6 separate regions of the Homo sapiens genome follow, and regions 1, 2, 3, 4 and 5 are each linked to region 6. Evidence: promoter capture Hi-C in 16 types of primary human blood cells and fetal thymus (Javierre and others, 2016). All regions are on one chromosome and are shown on one strand. The core of a region is centred on a gene start or on the middle of the fragment in contact, and the rest is flanking DNA. Distances in the headings are between cores, read along the strand shown.

Region 1 (2,700 bases), core at 101-2,600, 190 kb before region 6:
TGCACTCCAGACTGGGTGACACCATGAGAAAAAAAAAAAAAGGATGATTGAAGGCAGTTTCTACAGACTAGTCTGTCCTGCTTGGAGAATGGGGGAGGCTGCCAGGTGGCTGCAGCAGCTGAAGGCAAAAAGTGTACCATCTTTTTTTTTTTTTCTTCTTTTTTTAAGAGATGGAGAGGCAGGGGGTGGTGGCTCACGCCTATAATCCTAGCACTTTGGGAGGCCGAGGCGGGCAGACCACGAGGTCAGGAGTTCGAGACCAGCCTGGCCAACATGGTGAAACCCTAAATTAAATCTCTACTAAAAATACAAAATTTAGCTGGGCATGGTGGCGGGTGCCTATAATCCCAGCTACTCAGGAGGCTGAGGCAAGAGAATCGTTTGAGCCCGGGAGGCGGAGGTTGCAGTGAGCCAAGATCGTGCCATTGCACTCCAGCATGGGAGACAGGGTGAGACTCTGTCTCAAAAAAAAAAAAAAAAAAAAAAAAGATATAGGTCTCACTGTGTTGCCCAGGATTGTCTCAAACTCCTAGGCTCAAGCAATCCTCCTGTCTTGGCCTCCCAAAGTGCTAGGATTACAGGCATGAGCCACCATTCTTGGCCCAAAGCACACCATCTATGTGGGGTCCTGGCTCTGCCTCTCACAAACTGTGACCTTGAGCCAGTAGATTACTTTGTTAAGCCTTAAATTCCTCATCTGTAAAACAGAGATAAGACCACCCATCTCAGGGGCATTCAACTGTGATAATTTCATTTATTGTCCAAACCAAGTTTACTAATTATTGGGTGGGCTGGGAAGTATGATCCCCTGGGTGAAGGTGGATATGAATGTGATTTAAACACCGTGAAACTCTGTGCATATGTACAGAGTTATTGCTGTTACTGCAGATGCTGGGAAGAGCTGCTCACCTTCTCAGTAACTCTGCCTTGACCTCCCCTTACCTCCTGTGCTGAGGTCAGCCCTCTCTCCTCCACGTGGGCCAATGGTGGCTCCTGCCCTCCAGCCAACATCAGAGAGGCTGGAGGCACCTTGTCTTCCTCCCAGCCCTGCCCATCTCCATGACTGACCTTTTTGCGCACCCTGGACCTTGCCAACCCAAGATGCTCGCTCTAGAGATGAAGGTGGATGCAGATGCTGGGGTTCGGGGGTGGCCTCAGCTGAGGGCCTGCTGACCAACCAAAGGGTATCGGCAGGGGCAGGGGCTGGCCCTCACCCTGGGCTGGGGGTTGGGCCAGCAGCTTCTCAGCACCAGGATCATGACTCTGAGCAAACCATGTTTACCAGAGCAGCAAAGGACCTATTTATAGCCTCAGCTGCTGCTTTCTCTGGCTCACGGTGGCGGGGGCAGGGTGGCTCCTCAGAGCAAGGGAGGTAGTCGGGTCGAGGGAACCTGGCTCTGCCCAGGTGCCACTGCCCAAACCCCTGGGCCCCATCCATGGCAAGAGAGACCTTCCCCTTCACCTCCTCCATGCTGCGCTCTCTCCGCCTGCAGCAGGAGTGGCTGGAATGGGAGGACCGGCGGCGGGCGGCTGCCCAGCAGTGCCGGAGCCGCAGGTGCCCGTCAAGTCCCCGGGCCCGACTCACTAGGCCTCACCGTTCCTGCCGAGACCCAGCTGTCCACCAAGCCCTCTTCTCCGGCAACCTGCAGCAGGTCCAAGCCCTGTTCCAAGATGAAGAGGCCGCCAACATGATTGTGGAGACTGTGAGCAACCAGCTGGCCTGGTCGGCTGAACAGGGTAGGGGGCACCAGAAGAGGGCAGAAGAGGAGGGAGAAAGAAGGGGAGTGGGTGGGGAAGGGGGAGAGTCTAGGCCCCTCCTTCCCTGCAGACCACAGACTATAGCAGCCCTTTCCACCACCTATCCTAGCTCCCTCCTAAACAGAGATGAGGCAGGGTTAGCAGTCTGTATGTCTTTTAAGAATTAAAAGTTGACCGGGCACAGTGGCTCACGCCTGTAATCCCAGCACTTTGGGAGGCCAAGGCAGGCGGATCACGAAGTCAGAAGTTTGAGACCAGCCTGACCAACATGGTAAAACCCCATCTCTACTAAAAATAGAAAAATTAGCCGGGCATGGTGGTGCGCACCTGTAATCCCAGCTACTCAGCAGCTGAGGCAGAAGAATCACTTAAACCCGGGAGGCGGAGCTTGCAGTGAGCCAAGATAGCGCCACTGCATTCCAGCCTGGGGGACAGAGCGAGACCCTGCCTAAAAAAAAAAAAAAAAGAGACAAGGTCTCACTATGTTGCCCAGGCTCATCTCGAACTCCTGAGGTCAAGTGATCATCCCGCCTTGGCCTCCCAAAGTGCTAGGATTACAGGTGTGAGCCACCACCCCAGGCCCCAAGGTGAACAAGCCTTTGACACTATTAGCCATTCAAAGACGCTGAGATTTCCTTAATGGGAGTCACTCTACTTAGTTGGCCCCTGTGGTTTTATACAGCAATTAATTTTTTTATGACACATACTATGTTTTGTTACAGATTGATAAGCTGTATTAAAAGGCTGTTCCAATTTATTCTTCCACTTCAGGACTTGAATAAGCCCCCTTCCACAGGTACAGCCTGGCAGTGTTTGTGCTCAGCAAACCATGCAGAGGGAAGGCCAGTGTCAGCTGTCAGCTGGAACCAGCATCCCCACTCCCTGCCCTGCCCTGTCTTATACACCACCTCCCAAAACTATTTGCTCTCCCTAGGGTTCTGG
Region 2 (2,700 bases), core at 56-2,555, 210 kb before region 6:
ATGTGGTGGCACATGTCTTATAGTCCCAGCTACTAGGGAGGCTGAGGCCAGAGGATCACTTGATCTTAGGAGGTTGAGGCTACAGTGAACTATGATCGTGCCACTGCCCTCCAGCCGGGGCAATAGAGCGAGAGCTTGTCTCCTTTAAAAAAAACCCAAGGCCGGGCGTGGTGGCTCACACCTATAATCTTGAGAGGTCAAGGCGGGCGGATCACCTGAGGTCGCGAGTTCAAGACCAGCCTGACCAACCTGGAGAAACCCTGTCTCTACTAAAAATACAAAATTAGCCGGACGTGTTGGCACATGCCTGTAATTCTAGCTACTCAGGAGGCTGAGGCAGGAGAATTGCTTGAACCTGGAAGGCAGAAGTTGCGGTGAGCCAAGATGTGCCATTGCACTCTAGCCTGGGCAATAAGAGTGAAACTCCGACTCAAGAAAAAAACAAAAACCAAACAGGTCAGGCGGGGTGGGTCACGCCTGTAATCCCAGCACTTTGGGAGGCTGAGGCGGGCAGATCACTTGAGGTCAGGAGTTCGAGACCAGCCTGGCCAACATGGTGAAACCCCCTCTATTGAAAATACAAAAATTAGCCAGGCTTGGTGGCACACGCCTGTAAGTCCAGCTACTCAGGAAGCTGAGGCTGGAGCATCGCTTGAACCCAGAGGCGGAGGTTGCAATGAGCCAAGGTCGTGCCATGGTACTCCAGCCTGGGCGACAGAGCGAGACTCCATCTCAAAAATAAAAAAATAGGCCGGGTGCGGTGGCTCATGCCTGTAATCCCAGCACTTTGGGAGGCCGAGGTGGGTGGATCACGAGGTCAGGAGTTCAAGACAAGCCTGGCCAACATGGTGAAACCCTGTCTCTACTAAAAATACAAAAATTAGCCGGGCGTGGTGGTGGGCGCCTGTAATCCCAGCTACTTGGGAGCCTGAGGCAGGAGAATCGCTTGAAACCAGAAGGTGGAGGTTGCAGTGAGCCAAGATTGTGCCATTGCACCCAGCCTGGGAGCGAAACTCCCTCTCAAAAAATAAAAAAGAACGGAGGCAGGGGAGAGAAATGAAGGACCTCCCAGCTCTAGGTCTGTCAGAGAGAGATGGGGTACCTCCTTGTCCTCCACAAAGAAGATCATCACTATAACTATACTCTGACCCCTCCTAACCCCGGTTGCCCTGGCACACTTGGAGACCTGGGAAGTCACAAGTGGGCCGTGGAAGGCTCAGCATATGCCTCTCCTTGTAAGCAGGCAGCCCTGAAGCAGCTTCCTAGGAACAAGGTCCCCAACATGGCGGTGATGATCAAGTCCCTGACTCGGAGCACAATGGACGCCAGTGTGGTTTTCAAGGACCCCACGGGTAAGGAATTAGGTCCTAGGTTGTCTGGTGAGTGGGCTCCATTGAGGCCAGGAAATGAGGTGGAATCACCCTCTCCCTTTGCAGACAGGAAAACTGAGGCAGTGAGCAGCCCACTTCCCAGCCAGGGCCCATACCAGTCGCTGTGCTGCCCTTGACCCCGAGACTGATGGGCCATGTGGTATTTGCAGGAGAGATGCAGGGGACGGTGCACAGGTTGCTGCTGGAGACGTGCCAGAATGAGCTGAAGCCTGGCTCAGTGCTGCTGCTGAAGCAGGTATGGGGAGCAGCTCTCCACACCACTGCCCCCCGGATAGAGCCCTCAGTGTCTGTCTCCTTACCTGTTTGGCTGCCTTCCTCTACAACACCAGGCACGGAGTGGCTGAACCATTGCTAGGCCCTGGCTTGAGCTCAGGGAAGGCCTGTGGCCCTTGAGCTGGCCCCCATTCTTCAGGGTGGATAGGGATGGAGGGTTGTGTTAAGGGGAGATTGTGGCAAATGGTTCTCTTCTGGCACCAAGGCTAGGCAGAGGACACCAAGTGAAAGGCAGGTGGGAGCCAGGTGTCCATCTGGCAGCTCCCAGTGCTCCATCAGGACACTGACCTTCCCTTTCCTTGACTCCAGATTGGAGTGTTTTCTCCTTCACTTCGAAATCACTACCTCAACGTGACACCCAACAACCTGGTCCATATTTACAGCCCGGATTCTGGGGATGGGAGCTTCCTCAAGCCATCTCAGCCCTTCCCCAAGGTAAGAGGAGCAGGAAGAAACGGGAGACTGGTAAGGCCCTCCTTCTGCCTGGATCTTCTGATTTCTTCCTCTCTTCCACCCTGGGGAGCAGAGGTCTGAAGGGGGCAGGTGCTCTGAGGTGAAAAGGTATCTTTGGGGACAGGACCATCTCCTATCCCTCATCCAGCCGCCTGGCAGATGGCTCAGTAACAGTACCTAGAGGAGCAGCTGGCTTCTTGGTGATCCCTGAGCATCTGATGGCAGGCTTGAACATCTGAGAGGATAGGAGTCACTTGAGAACTAACCAAGTGGAGGGCCCACCAGGGGGTGGTGGCAGTAAATGACCGAGGGTCAGATCTGCTACAGGTGGCAGTGTGGAGAACAGTGAGCTACAAATGGCCTGTCAGGTGAGCCAGCACCTGCTCTGTGTCTTCCCTCTTGGCATCTGCCTCTGCTAAATTAGGGGGAAGCTGCACAGAGCACTGGTGGGGACATCCTCTTTAGGAACCGAGACGAGCATTTGGCATTTATGGGAGGTAAGCATGGGCTTCCAGGCAGATCCACTCCAGGTTGAGAGTGTAGAGCCTGGGCTTGACTTGCCCTGCCCCCACCACCTTCCTAG
Region 3 (2,700 bases), core at 185-2,684, 180 kb before region 6:
TCCATTTATAGCAAGTACAAAAACAGGAAAAACTAATGTATGGTGACAGACGTCAGAATAGTGATTACTCTTTGGAGGTTAATGGCTAGAAGAAGACATGAAGGGGGAGATTCTGGGGTAATTCTTTCTTTTTTTTTTTTTTCCTGAGACAGAGTCTCGCTCTGTCACCCCAGCTGGCGTGCAGTGGCTCCATCTCAGCTCACTGCAACCTCCGCCTCCCAGGTTCAAGCCATTCTCCTGCCTCAGCCTTCTGAGTAGCCAGGATTACAGGCGTGCGCCACCACGCCCGGCTAATTTTTGTATTTTTAGTAGAGACGGGATTTCACCATGTTACCCAGGCTGGTCTTGAACTCCTGACCTTGTGATCCGCCTGCCTTAGCCTCCTAACGTGTTGGGATTACAGGCGTGAGCCACCGCGCCAGTCCTAATTATCTATTTCTTGATCTAAGTGCTACTTCTGCCAGTGTTCAGTTGGTAGAAGCCACCGAGCTTTTTGCTTATGTTTGCCCCTGTCTGGATTATTTATCCTTTAATCAGTAGTTCTCCAAAACCCCAAACTCCAGCGCTTTTTTTTTTTTTTTTGGAGACAAGGCCTCCCTGTCGGGTGCAATGCAGTGGCTCAGATCATAGCTCACTGCAGCCTCGAACTCCTGAGCTCAAGCGATCCTCCCACCTCTGCCTCCCAAAGCGGTGGGATTACAAGAGTAAGCCACTCCCCCCGGCCACAGTAAGTTTTTAGAAAAAATTTTAATTGCGGCCGAGCGCGGTAGCTCACGCCTGTAATGCCAGCACTTTGGGAGGCCGAGACGGGGGCGGATCACCTGAGGTCGGGAGTTCGAGACCAGCCTGACCAACATGGAGAAACCCTGTCTCTACTAAAATACAAAATTAGCGGGGCGTGGTGGCGCATGCCTGTAATCCCAGCTACTCGGCAGGCTGAGGCAAAAGAATCGCTTGAACCCGGGGGGGCGGAGGTTGCAGTGAGCCGAGATCGCGCCATTGCACTCCAGCCTGGGCAACAAGAGCGGAACTCCCGTCTCAAAAAAGAAAAAATTTTAACTGCAAAAATCTGGATAAGTTCTTGAAAGCTGGACTTTTCCCCCTTTTTGTGTCCTAAGCCTGCGCCGAATCTGTGCCTTCTTTGAAATGCTTTCCCGCCTTCTTTCTCCGGGTCCCACACTACCTGGGGCCGCACTCTTCAAGCACTGGATGCTGACTAACTGGTCTCCTTATCTGTCTTCCCGACTGGCCCAGAGCTGAGTTCTTACTAATCCCCGCTAACCTGGAGTTAGGTGCGCGTTGCAAAGCAGTAACGAATCCAATCAGCCGGGGAGGCAGACAGCAGGGCCGGAAGAACAAAGCTGGAAAGGGAAACGTCGCACCGGCTCTGCCCAGCGGCGCCAGCCCGGGCAACCTTCCGCAGTCGCGAAGCCACGCCCCTTTCCCAAGTACCTCCGCGCTAACTCCTCCCCCCTGGCCCCGCCTCTCACCCTGGATTGCCTAAGGCCCCGCCCACCAGGCGTGGCCCCGCTCTGGGAGGGCCGCAATCCCGCCAACAATGACTCCACCCCTCCTTCCGCTGAGAAACCTGTCCCTTTTATTTAAAGAATACCTTTTACGTCAGCCCGTCTTACGCAGCTTCGCGTCATCAGTGCAAGGCGCGGAGGCGGGACTTCCTGTCCCTGGTATAACAGCTTCCGGGAGAAGCCGGAAGAGACCGGACCCTGAACAGAATCGCAGATTGCCAGCCCTTTTCCCGACCCCTACGGAAAGACGAGTCCAGGGGCCGTCCTGGCGAGGTCAAAACATTTAGTCTGGTCTTTTCAGGTGAGGACTTCCCCATCCAGGCACAGTGCCGGTCCAATCCCCCTTTAATTTCCCATGACTCCTCGCGTCCTGAAGCCCCGCCCCCAGTTCCCCAGCCCCGCCCCGAAGTTTGAGGGGTGTGGACGGTTTGTGACCCCCTTAGCCGACCCTACTCCTCACTGGCCGGGACAACTGGTCTTATCACGGAGGCTGGGGCCAGGCAGCCCTTCGGTTCGGGTGGGCCCATGGACCCCAGTCCAACGCCGAGGGAATAGGACCATCCAAAAGCGGAACCTTCGCCTCAGAAAAAGGGTGCGGGACCCCTCCTCACCGTGCGGTCACGGTACGGACAGGGTAGATCACAGGCTGAGGGACAGAGCAAAGACCCCTGAGGCCGGACACCTGGGGTCCTGCCGGGCCCCTCCCCACGAGAGTTCCCTGTGTCTGTGCCAATCGTTTTCGTCTTTCTTTGCCGCAGTTTCTTTTCCTGTAAATCATGGTTAATAACATTAACCTTCTTACCATCAGGGGTTAGTTGTGGTTGTGATAAATAATTACTACCGTTATTAAGCAATTGCAATTTGCAGTGTGCCAGGCACTGTGCCAAGTATTTTGCTTCGATGATTTCACGTCATCTTCAAAACAACCTCATGAGGTAGGTACTGTTTTTAACCCCATTTTACTGATGAGAAAGCTGAGGCTCTGAGAAAGTTGTCTGAGGTGTTATAGCTAGTAAGACGCAAGACTGGGGTTATAATTAGTTGTTTTTCTAACTCCAGGGCCGGTATATTAAATAAGGATGTTGATGTGTTCCACAGATAATTCTTTGAGCAACTACTGGGGCATTATATTGGACACTTCAGTACCAAGAGAAATACATACGATCCTTGTCTA
Region 4 (2,700 bases), core at 23-2,522, 250 kb before region 6:
CTTGGGCACCAGCAGCATGCCAGGGAGGGGGCCGCCAGAGGCGGGGAGCAGACCGAAGGGAAGGTGGTCGGGCAGCCCGCACAGCACAGGTTCCCTCAGGCCACTGCCGACGGGACCCACACTGTAGGGAAGTGCCTCATCCGGCCTGGGCACTCCTGGCGGCAGGAGGGGCAGGGAGGCCCTAGAGCTGCAGGCCCAGCTCTGCTCTAGAGGGGCATCCGACCACCAGCCTCTCCCTGGTTCCTGGGAGCTGGGGTATGGCTGAGCACTTGGGACAGGAAGGGGAGCTCAGCGGGCAGGCGGGCTCTGTGTTCCCTCCCAACCCTGGGTGACAGCTCTGGGCCCGGCTCCCTGCTCCTCCTTCCCGAATGAGCCGCCGCCGGCAGCTGGCAGGAGACTGAAATAGCAGTTGGGGGAGGGCCCTGTCTATAAATAGGTGGAGCATGCTCAGGGAGCTGCGGGCGGGCTGCCAGGAGGCCCCATGGGGGGGGAGGCGGTTCTACCCCAGGAGGAAGCGCCAGGCGAGGGGGATGGGAACAGGGGAGGGCCTGCACTCAGGGCCAAGGCCACAGCGCTGGGTGGCCAGAGGCTGGGCTGGGGAAGGGCGCCGGCCAGGGTACCCATGCATCTGGGAGCGGCTCTGGCTGCTACTCTTGGCAAGCAAGCCAGGGGATGGAGACCAAGAAGCCAGACTCAAGCCTCCGTCTTTCTTCTTGCCTTCCAGAACAGGTAAAGGAATTGGAAGGGTCTAGGAGAGGCTGGCACACAGGCACCTTCCCTGGAGTTCTAATAGCCCCATGGAGGTTTGCTTAACTTCTGCCCTCCCACAGAGTTGAGAGGTGCCTCCCCACCCCTTCAACCAGCAGAGAGACCCCTAAACACCTGCTAAATGGCAGCTCCCTCCCGCTCATTCTGGAGTGTCGCCTCCAGAGGCTGCTCAGCCTCAGCTTCTTTCTAGGGTGTAGGGATACTCCTCCTGGGCAGACAGGTGTCCCCTGGTCCCCTTTCCTCACCCCAATCCAGGAAAAGGGACCAGGGAACATCTGCTAATTCTCAGAGCACAGGTAGCTCCTCCATGGCAATGTGCCAGGTGCAGTGCTACGAACATCATATACATCATCTCATTAATTCTGCGTGGTGACCTTGGGAGAGGCACAGATGGGAAAACTGAGGCACAGGGAGATGAAGTCACTCACCCTAGGTCATAAAGCTGCTTACATGGCAGGGCTGGGATGTCTGAGGCTCAAGTCTGAGCTCTAACCACCACACTCCACTGCCTCCCATTTCCCAGGGTTTCTATTAACAGGTACAATGACCCCTGTGCTCAAGTAGGAAGAGACTTGAGGTTGGAACCTCGCTAAGGAGAGTCAAGAGTTTTTCAGCATCCAGCCATTACCCACCAGCCAGCCTCAGGCCTGGCAGCACAGCCCCTGCTCCCTGGGTCCTGGGGCTGGTGCACCATGAGGACCAGTGGCACTCCCCCGCCCTCCCCACCGCTGGCCTGCCCCTGCTCCTCAGGTTGTGCCTCCCACTGGTACAAAGATCCCACTTGGCCCCCTGACCTCACTAGAGCCTTTTAATAGCCTGGTTATTCCTGTGTCTATATCCCCCTCCCCCTTCCTGATGTCACAGTTGCTATTTTGGAGCCCCCTCCTTGACCCCCACTCCAGGCATGGAGCCAGGGACACCTGTCCTCTCTCTGGACTGGATGACCTCACCCTCTTGTTGGGAGCCCAGGAGAAGCTGGCCAACCAAGGACACAGTGGCTGTGGCTCCTGGAGCCCAATTTCCCAGCCAGCTTCTGCCAGTCAGGGATGGCAAAGGGGTCTCCTGCCCTCAGGCTGGGAGTGGGAGGATTAGGGGGACCACACCTATAGGCAGAGGCAGGCTTTCCCAGGCCCTTGACTAGCAAGATGTATATGTTGCCAGGGGGTACCCAGTGGTGGACCAGCAAAGAAACAGGGGTCTGGAGCTGCAGCTTCTAAACCAGGGCAGATTCTAGAAAAAGGGCAGTGGAACAGTACTCCCTCAGAGGCCTAGTGCTGGTGGACATTCAGGGTATGGCTGGGGATCTTGTTCACCACCCCTTGCCCCAACCTCATCCTGGCCAACCAGGCCCTCTCAAGAGGAAGGGAAGGGAAGGTCTCCATCAGTGGGGTGATGGGCAGCAGATTCAAGGGAGCCCAGAAAGCCAAGAGCAGCAACCCCTCCCAGCCCAGGACTCCTCCCACCCACGCTAGGAGTAACCAGAAGGGCTGGCTAGCCCTGTCCCAGCTCTCTCTGCCTGCCCCAGGCATAGGAGAGTGTGGCAGGAGAGCCTTATTCTAAAGAAGAGGAAGGCGTCAGTTACCAGGACTCAAAAGCAGGGCCCCCAGAACCTGGAGCACCCAGACATTGAAGGAAACAGGACTTCCTGCTTAGGGAAGATAGTAGCACCCAGGACAGGGACACCCAGAGGTGGCTGGAGCCGGGAGCTGGGGAGCCAGCTCCCAGCACCATTACAGCCTCCAACAAGTAGGAAGCAAAGTATCAGACACAGTCAGAAAATCCTCAGTGCAATTCCCAGAACCCTCCAAGGCAATAAGAGAGGAGATCTGGGATGGGGACAAATGTCTTTTTTTCTTCTGAGATTCAGGTGATACAAGGTCCTCCTAATGTCTAACTTCAATCCTTCATGCTTTAGCCCCCCTCCTTGCAATT
Region 5 (2,700 bases), core at 143-2,642, 160 kb before region 6:
GCGCCACTGCACTCCAGCCTGGGCAACTGAGCGAGACTCCGTCTCAAAACAAAACAAAAAAGAAGAAAAAGAAAAACTTCTTATAGAGGGAGATGAACCAGGTGAAGGTAGGCCAAGAAGGCATTGGACATCCCCAACTGGAAGCTTCAGAAGCATGGATCAAGCTGGAACAGAGGAGTGGGTGGCAGAGCAGCAGGAGGTGAGCAGGCTGGATAATACAGGACAAAGCAAAGTAGGTGTTGAAAAGTTTGTGGGCTTTAGCCTGTAAGCTGTGAGGAGTCCTCAAGGGGAATCATTCACCAGACTTATATTTTTAGTGGATCATGCTGGAGTATGGTCTGGAGAATAATTTAGAAGCAGTAGGTTTTTTGTTTTGTTTTGTTTTGTTTTTTTAGACAGCATTTTGCTCTGTCACTCAGGTGCAATCTCAGCTCACGGCAACTTCTGCGTCCCGGGTTCAAGTGATTCTCATGCCTCAGCCTCCTGAATAGCTGGGATTACTGGCGCACGCCACCACGCTCGGCTAATTTTAGTTTTGTATTTTTAGTACAGACAGGGTTGCACCATGTTGGCCAGGCTGGTCTCGAACTTCTGACCTCAGGAGATCCGCCTGCCTCAGCCTCCCAAATGCTGGGATTACAGGCATAAACCACTGGGCCTGGCAAAAGCAGTAGGTTTTTGTTACTGATTGAGGTGTGTGGAGGAAAGGAGAGGGAGGTCTTGAAAACACCTTTACTAGGATGGGGAACTCAGGGGAGGACATGGGAGGACACAGGATGACTTCAGTCTGGGATATATTGAGGTTACTGTGGGATCAGCTGATGGAGACCCAAAAGGTGGTTGAACTCAGGTCTGGCACAGAGAAGTAAGCTAGGTCTTCAGGAACTTCAACAACATCGCCTCAACCTTTGTTTTCTCTTATCTCCCGCCTCCTTTTCAGGAATTCTTCACTCCAGTGATGCTGATCTGTTTCTTACCTAAATATGCCCAGTACATTCTGCCCTAAGGAATTTGCGCCATGGCCAGAAAATCCTCCTGGCTTCTCCCTGTTTACCTAAATCCTTCCTCATATCCCCACCCATGGCCATCCTCATACCAAACTTCTTTACAACTAGACTGTACTATTCATTCTGTGCTTGGCCTGGGCTGCTCTGTGGTGGTGACCTCTTTGGGCACGTGCCCAGTCTCCACAGTTAGCACCAGTTCATAAACACTAAGGCCTGAGCTGGTCCTGACTCTGGGTGAGGCCCTGGGGTTACAGCAACAAGCAAGAGAGACACACAAACCTTGTCCTAGCGCAGCTTACAGCCTAGCAAGGCCTGATGTGAAGGAAATAAGGCCTGAGTGTGAAGGCATTCAGGCTGCTGAAGAAACGTATAGTGTGGAGACCTTTTTTCTCAGGAGTTCAGGGAAGGAAGTGGTCTTTTAAGTGGAGACCAGAATTAACTAGGCAGAGAGAACACCATGTGTATAGGCCCTAGGAGAGAGCATGTTATGTTCGAGACATGAATGGTCAGTGTGGCTAGAGTCGGGGGAGGGCTAACGGGGGCAGCAGATCCCCAAGGGCCTTGTGGGCCAGACCTATTCACCCACTCAGCAAATCTTTCTTGATTGTCAAATGTATATCAGGCAGTTTCAGGTGCTGAGATTACTGTAATGAACAAGCAGATAAGGTGTCTTCTACTTGGGGAGATAGATAATAAACAAATACATAAACAAGAAGATGGAGGAGGCCTCTCTAGAGCAGGTGGTTGGGAAAGGCTTCTCTGTGAGAGGACATGTGAGTTGAGGCTTAAAGAATGAAAAAAAAAAATCAGGTATGTGTAGAGTTGGAGGAATAGCCATTCTAGGCAGAGAGAACAGGTGCCAAGACCCCGCAGGTAGGCATGTTTGAGGAACAGAAGAGATCACTTGGTTGGATCGTTGTAAGTGGTTAGGAAGAGCAGGGTGAGAGAAGATAAGAGAAGGAATGCGGGGGCCAAGCCTTGTAGGGCCATGGTAAGACATGGTAAATTTTCAGTACAGAAATAATCAGATTTATTTCTGAGATAATTTTGGCTGCCATGTGAAGAATGGGCTGTAGGGGGCGAGAGTGGAAGCAGGAAGACCAGCTTTAGGAGGTCTTTGCAGAAGTTGAGCAATGATGGTGGCCTGAAATAGGATGGGAGTGGCAGCTGTGGGAGCCACCCTGTGGGAGGGGTCGACAGATTTGAGACAGCTTTAGGAAGTGGAATGGAGAGGTCTAGGTGATTGAACCTCGAGGTGAAAGGGAGAGAGGAGTCAAGGCCAATACTCTGCTTTCTAGGTTGAACGACTAAGTGTTTGGTAATCATTTCGGGTCTTGAGGTATGAGATGTCTGCAAGATATCCCAGGGGATGCAAGGGTGTCTACACAGGTCTGCAGCTTGGAAGAGCAGTCTCTGTCGGCACCACCTTTCGGAATGGTTGCATATGCGTGATAATGGGAGGTTGAAGGGAGAGACATGAACACCTGGGATAAAATGAGGAAGAGCTGACACCAACAGAGTAGACCAAGAAGGCAAAAGACAAGACAAGTGTTCACCAGATGTAATGAACATGTTGGTGACCTTAGCAAGGAACCTCAAAGGATGGTGGTAAGTGGGAGGCCAAGAGGCACAACAAGCTTTTTAGCAGTTTGGCCACTATAGGATAGGGGCAAGGGCTGGGAGAGAGTTCTCC
Region 6 (2,700 bases), core at 57-2,556:
CCACAGGCAGGAGAGGGAGAGCAGGACCCGGGAGGTGGACTCAGGACTGGAGTGGGCGGAGGCCCCCAAGCGTCCAGGCCTGCCTGTGGGATGTGTTGTCAGGGTCTTGCTCCCCCACCCTTTCCTGCTGCAGGAGCCGGCCCCACCCCCACCTCACACACCCACCTGCGCCCGGTGAGTCGCTGGGAAGGGTCTCCTCCACTGCGAAGATGTGAGATGAGGAGGGGGTGATATGGGGGCGGGCAGGGGACAGGAATGCCAGGAGGCCTGCTGAATGGGGGGGGACCCAGGCACCTGCCCTCCCAGCCGGCACTGCCCACAGCCAGCTAGCTCAGCATGGCTCCACGACCACAAGCCTGCCATGCTCCCTCAGCTGGGAATCACAATGTACCCCCTTTTCTTAGAGGCCCACAACTGCGGCTCGTCCTCCATCATAGGCTCACAAGCATTTATTTGGTGCACCCCAAACTCTAAACCAGGGGGGCTGGCTGGGAGCTGTCAGGCTCCAGGGCAAAGAACCCCATTAGAGCAGTCAATCCCGCCCACAGCCTCACCCACTCCCCCTTCTCCCCTCCCCCCTTCAAACCCAGCTCCAGGCTCCCAGCCTCCGGTCCCGGCCTAGGGTGGCAGCGGATGCCGGCGCCCCCACCCCGCCAGGGTCGGGAGCGAGCAACCCGCAGGGGGCTGCGGAGCAGGCGCCCGCCCCAGCCCGCCCCTGGGCGGGTGTCTTCGGTAGACAATGGCTCAGGCAGCAGCGCCTCGCGGACCAGGAGGGAGAAAAACAAATAGGGAGAGGGCGGCGGCGCAGATCCTGGGGACCCTCGCACTACCCATTGTGTCTCCCCAAGACCCCCGCCCCGGACGGCCTCCCTCTCCCCGCCTCCACTTTCCCCCAGAAGCGCCAACCCCAGATCGCTTAGCTCCCCCCACCCGAATCCAGGGAACAGAATACCACTCAATTCACGAACGCCGCGAAGAGGGGGCTGACGGGCGGGAGCCTGATCAGGGGGCGCAGGCCCGCGATCGCGGCCCCTCCCGGCTGAGACTCACCCTGCGGGCTGGGGGGCTCCGGCGGCGACTTGCCGGGAGCCCGGGAGGCGCTGCCGAGCAGCAGCCCCAGCAGCGGCAACAGCCGCGCGAGGACGCTGGGGCCACTCGCCGGCGGCATCGCGGGGCTAGGCCGGGCCCTAGCGGTCCATGGCTCCCGCCTGGTCCCGCTCGCCCGGCCCCGCGCAGCCCCAGCTCTGCGCCGCGCCTCGCAGCTCCGGCTCCCGCTCCCGCTGCGGCGCCCGCTCAGCGCGATTGTCTCCGACCGGAGCCGCCGCAAGCGCCCCCTGCAGGCGGCGCGCCACACCGCTGGCCCTCCGGCACCGCCCCCTCCCGGCCCCGCTCCGCCCGCCGCCCCCCGGTACTGCCCACCTTCAGCCCACCCCGCAGCCCCCGCGCTCTGCGCTCCCAGACTCTGCGCTGCAAAGGAGTGTCGGGATTAGGGTCCCATCACCCGGGTTCTTGGGTTTCGAGAGTCCCCAAAATTTGGTGCAAAATTTGTGTGTGTGTAGGTGGGGAGTGGATATTGCCTACAACACTCTCAAGGGGTACGGTCATGAAAGTCTCAGAAAACTGTAAGAACTCCCTGCTCGATGGCCCCCTTCTCCCGGTAGAACACCTAGGCAGTGCTGGGGTGATAGCAGGGAAGGCCCCCTAGACCCCCCTAAGTCTCTCTTTTTTTTTTTTTTGAGACAGATTTTTTTTTTTCAGAGACAAGTGAACATTTATTTTTGGGCCTTTCTTCCTATTTCAAGTCTTTTTCAAAACAAGGCCCCAAGAATCTCCAAATTCAATTATGTCCCTGGGCTTGGCCGACTGGTGCAGGAGTCTTAGGGAGCCTTGTACAAATGCTAGAGTTACTCACTTACCGACATTAAACTAAAACGCTGGAATTTTTCCTTGGAAACTGGACTGTGATTAGAGGTGCTTGCCATGAACATAAGCTACTGTTTCTTCTCCTTCTTTTTTTTTTTTTTTTTTTTTTTGAGAGAGAGTCTTGCTCTGTTGCCCAGGCTGGAGTGCAGTGGCGTGATCTTGGCTCACTGCAACCTCTGCCTCCCGGGTTCAAGTGATTCTCCTGCCTCAGCCTCCCAAGTAGCTGGGACTACAGGTGCACGCCACCATGCCCGGCTAATTTTTGTATTTTTAGTAGAGACAGCGTTTCACTATGTTGGCCAGGCTGGTCTCGAACTCCTGATCTCAAGTGATCTACCCGCCTCGGCCTCCCAAAGTGCTGGGATTACAGGCGTGAGCTTCTGTCTTTTCTTTGACCCTTCCTTTCCAGTTTTTGAAGATAAAGCTGGAAATAATCTTCTCTGAAGATACTTGATAAAAATTCCCAAAAAAACAAAAACACATGCTTCTACTACCCATGCTTCCACTTCATTAATAAAAATTTACTGCAGTTTGGCACCTGGGTCTAGTTCAGCTGGCGGATGAGCTGACTGATGCGTTCACCCTGATAGCCAGGTGTGCCCATCTCCTTGAGGAAGCCCACTGTATTTTTGGTAGCATGACGGGCCACTGAGAGGTAGAAAGGGCGTAACAACCATGAGACCTCCTGGAAATGCTTCCCTGGGACGGCAATTTCATGACTGAGGTCTTCCAAGCAAACGACACCAAACTTCCCCAGGTGCTTCTCAATCACTGTGT

The links. The method cuts DNA at HindIII sites, captures the fragments that hold promoters and counts their contacts. A CHiCAGO score of 5 or more calls a contact.
Region 1: the fragment with the promoter of ASB16 here is called in contact with the fragment with the promoter of FAM171A2 in region 6 in 1 of 17 cell types (neutrophils); the score reaches 5.5 in neutrophils.
Region 2: a contact is called between a fragment that was not itself captured here and the fragment with the promoter of FAM171A2 in region 6, in 2 of 17 cell types (neutrophils and erythroblasts). The highest score is 7.7, in neutrophils.
Region 3: the fragment with the promoter of ASB16-AS1 here is called in contact with the fragment with the promoter of FAM171A2 in region 6 in 1 of 17 cell types (neutrophils); the score reaches 5.9 in neutrophils.
Region 4: a contact is called between a fragment that was not itself captured here and the fragment with the promoter of FAM171A2 in region 6, in 1 of 17 cell types (neutrophils). The highest score is 5.8, in neutrophils.
Region 5: a contact is called between a fragment that was not itself captured here and the fragment with the promoter of FAM171A2 in region 6, in 12 of 17 cell types (erythroblasts, megakaryocytes, monocytes and 9 more). The highest score is 12.0, in erythroblasts.

What each region holds. Positions count from the first base shown.
Region 1 is chr17:44,169,354-44,172,053 of GRCh38, forward strand. It overlaps ASB16 (ankyrin repeat and SOCS box containing 16), which reads left to right and starts at 1,351. Exons shown (of 5, transcript NM_080863.5): 1 at 1,351-1,737; 2 at 2,693-2,700. The coding sequence starts at 1,437. The HindIII fragment of the contact is 23,995 bases long and covers 1-2,700 here.
Region 2 is chr17:44,153,313-44,156,012 of GRCh38, forward strand. It overlaps HROB (homologous recombination factor with OB-fold), which reads left to right. Exons shown (of 10, transcript NM_001171251.3): 6 at 1,244-1,352; 7 at 1,541-1,626; 8 at 1,974-2,099. Among named protein-coding and RNA genes, the nearest start is that of HROB, 13 kb to the left of the region's middle. The HindIII fragment of the contact is 7,387 bases long and covers 1-2,700 here.
Region 3 is chr17:44,185,283-44,187,982 of GRCh38, forward strand. It overlaps ASB16-AS1 (ASB16 antisense RNA 1), which reads right to left and starts at 1,435. Exons shown (of 3, transcript NR_049730.1): 1 at 1,283-1,435. TMUB2 (transmembrane and ubiquitin like domain containing 2) reads left to right here and starts at 1,690. Exons shown (of 4, transcript NM_001076674.3): 1 at 1,690-1,827; 2 at 2,394-2,461. The coding sequence starts at 2,427. RefSeq lists an enhancer at 1,014-1,548. The HindIII fragment of the contact is 11,845 bases long and covers 1-2,700 here.
Region 4 is chr17:44,110,862-44,113,561 of GRCh38, forward strand. All of the region lies in intron 2 of HDAC5 (histone deacetylase 5), which reads right to left. Among named protein-coding and RNA genes, the nearest start is that of HDAC5, 11 kb to the right of the region's middle. RefSeq lists an enhancer at 1,153-1,653. The HindIII fragment of the contact is 4,795 bases long and covers 1-2,700 here.
Region 5 is chr17:44,201,761-44,204,460 of GRCh38, forward strand. The region is part of intron 1 of ATXN7L3-AS1 (ATXN7L3 antisense RNA 1); the gene reads left to right. Among named protein-coding and RNA genes, the nearest start is that of ATXN7L3, 3.2 kb to the left of the region's middle. The HindIII fragment of the contact is 2,500 bases long and covers 143-2,642 here.
Region 6 is chr17:44,362,547-44,365,246 of GRCh38, forward strand. FAM171A2 (family with sequence similarity 171 member A2) reads right to left here and starts at 1,307. Exons shown (of 8, transcript NM_198475.3): 1 at 1,051-1,307. The coding sequence starts at 1,168. It also overlaps the pseudogene RPL7L1P5. RefSeq lists a silencer at 1,019-1,398. The HindIII fragment of the contact is 8,364 bases long and covers 1-2,700 here.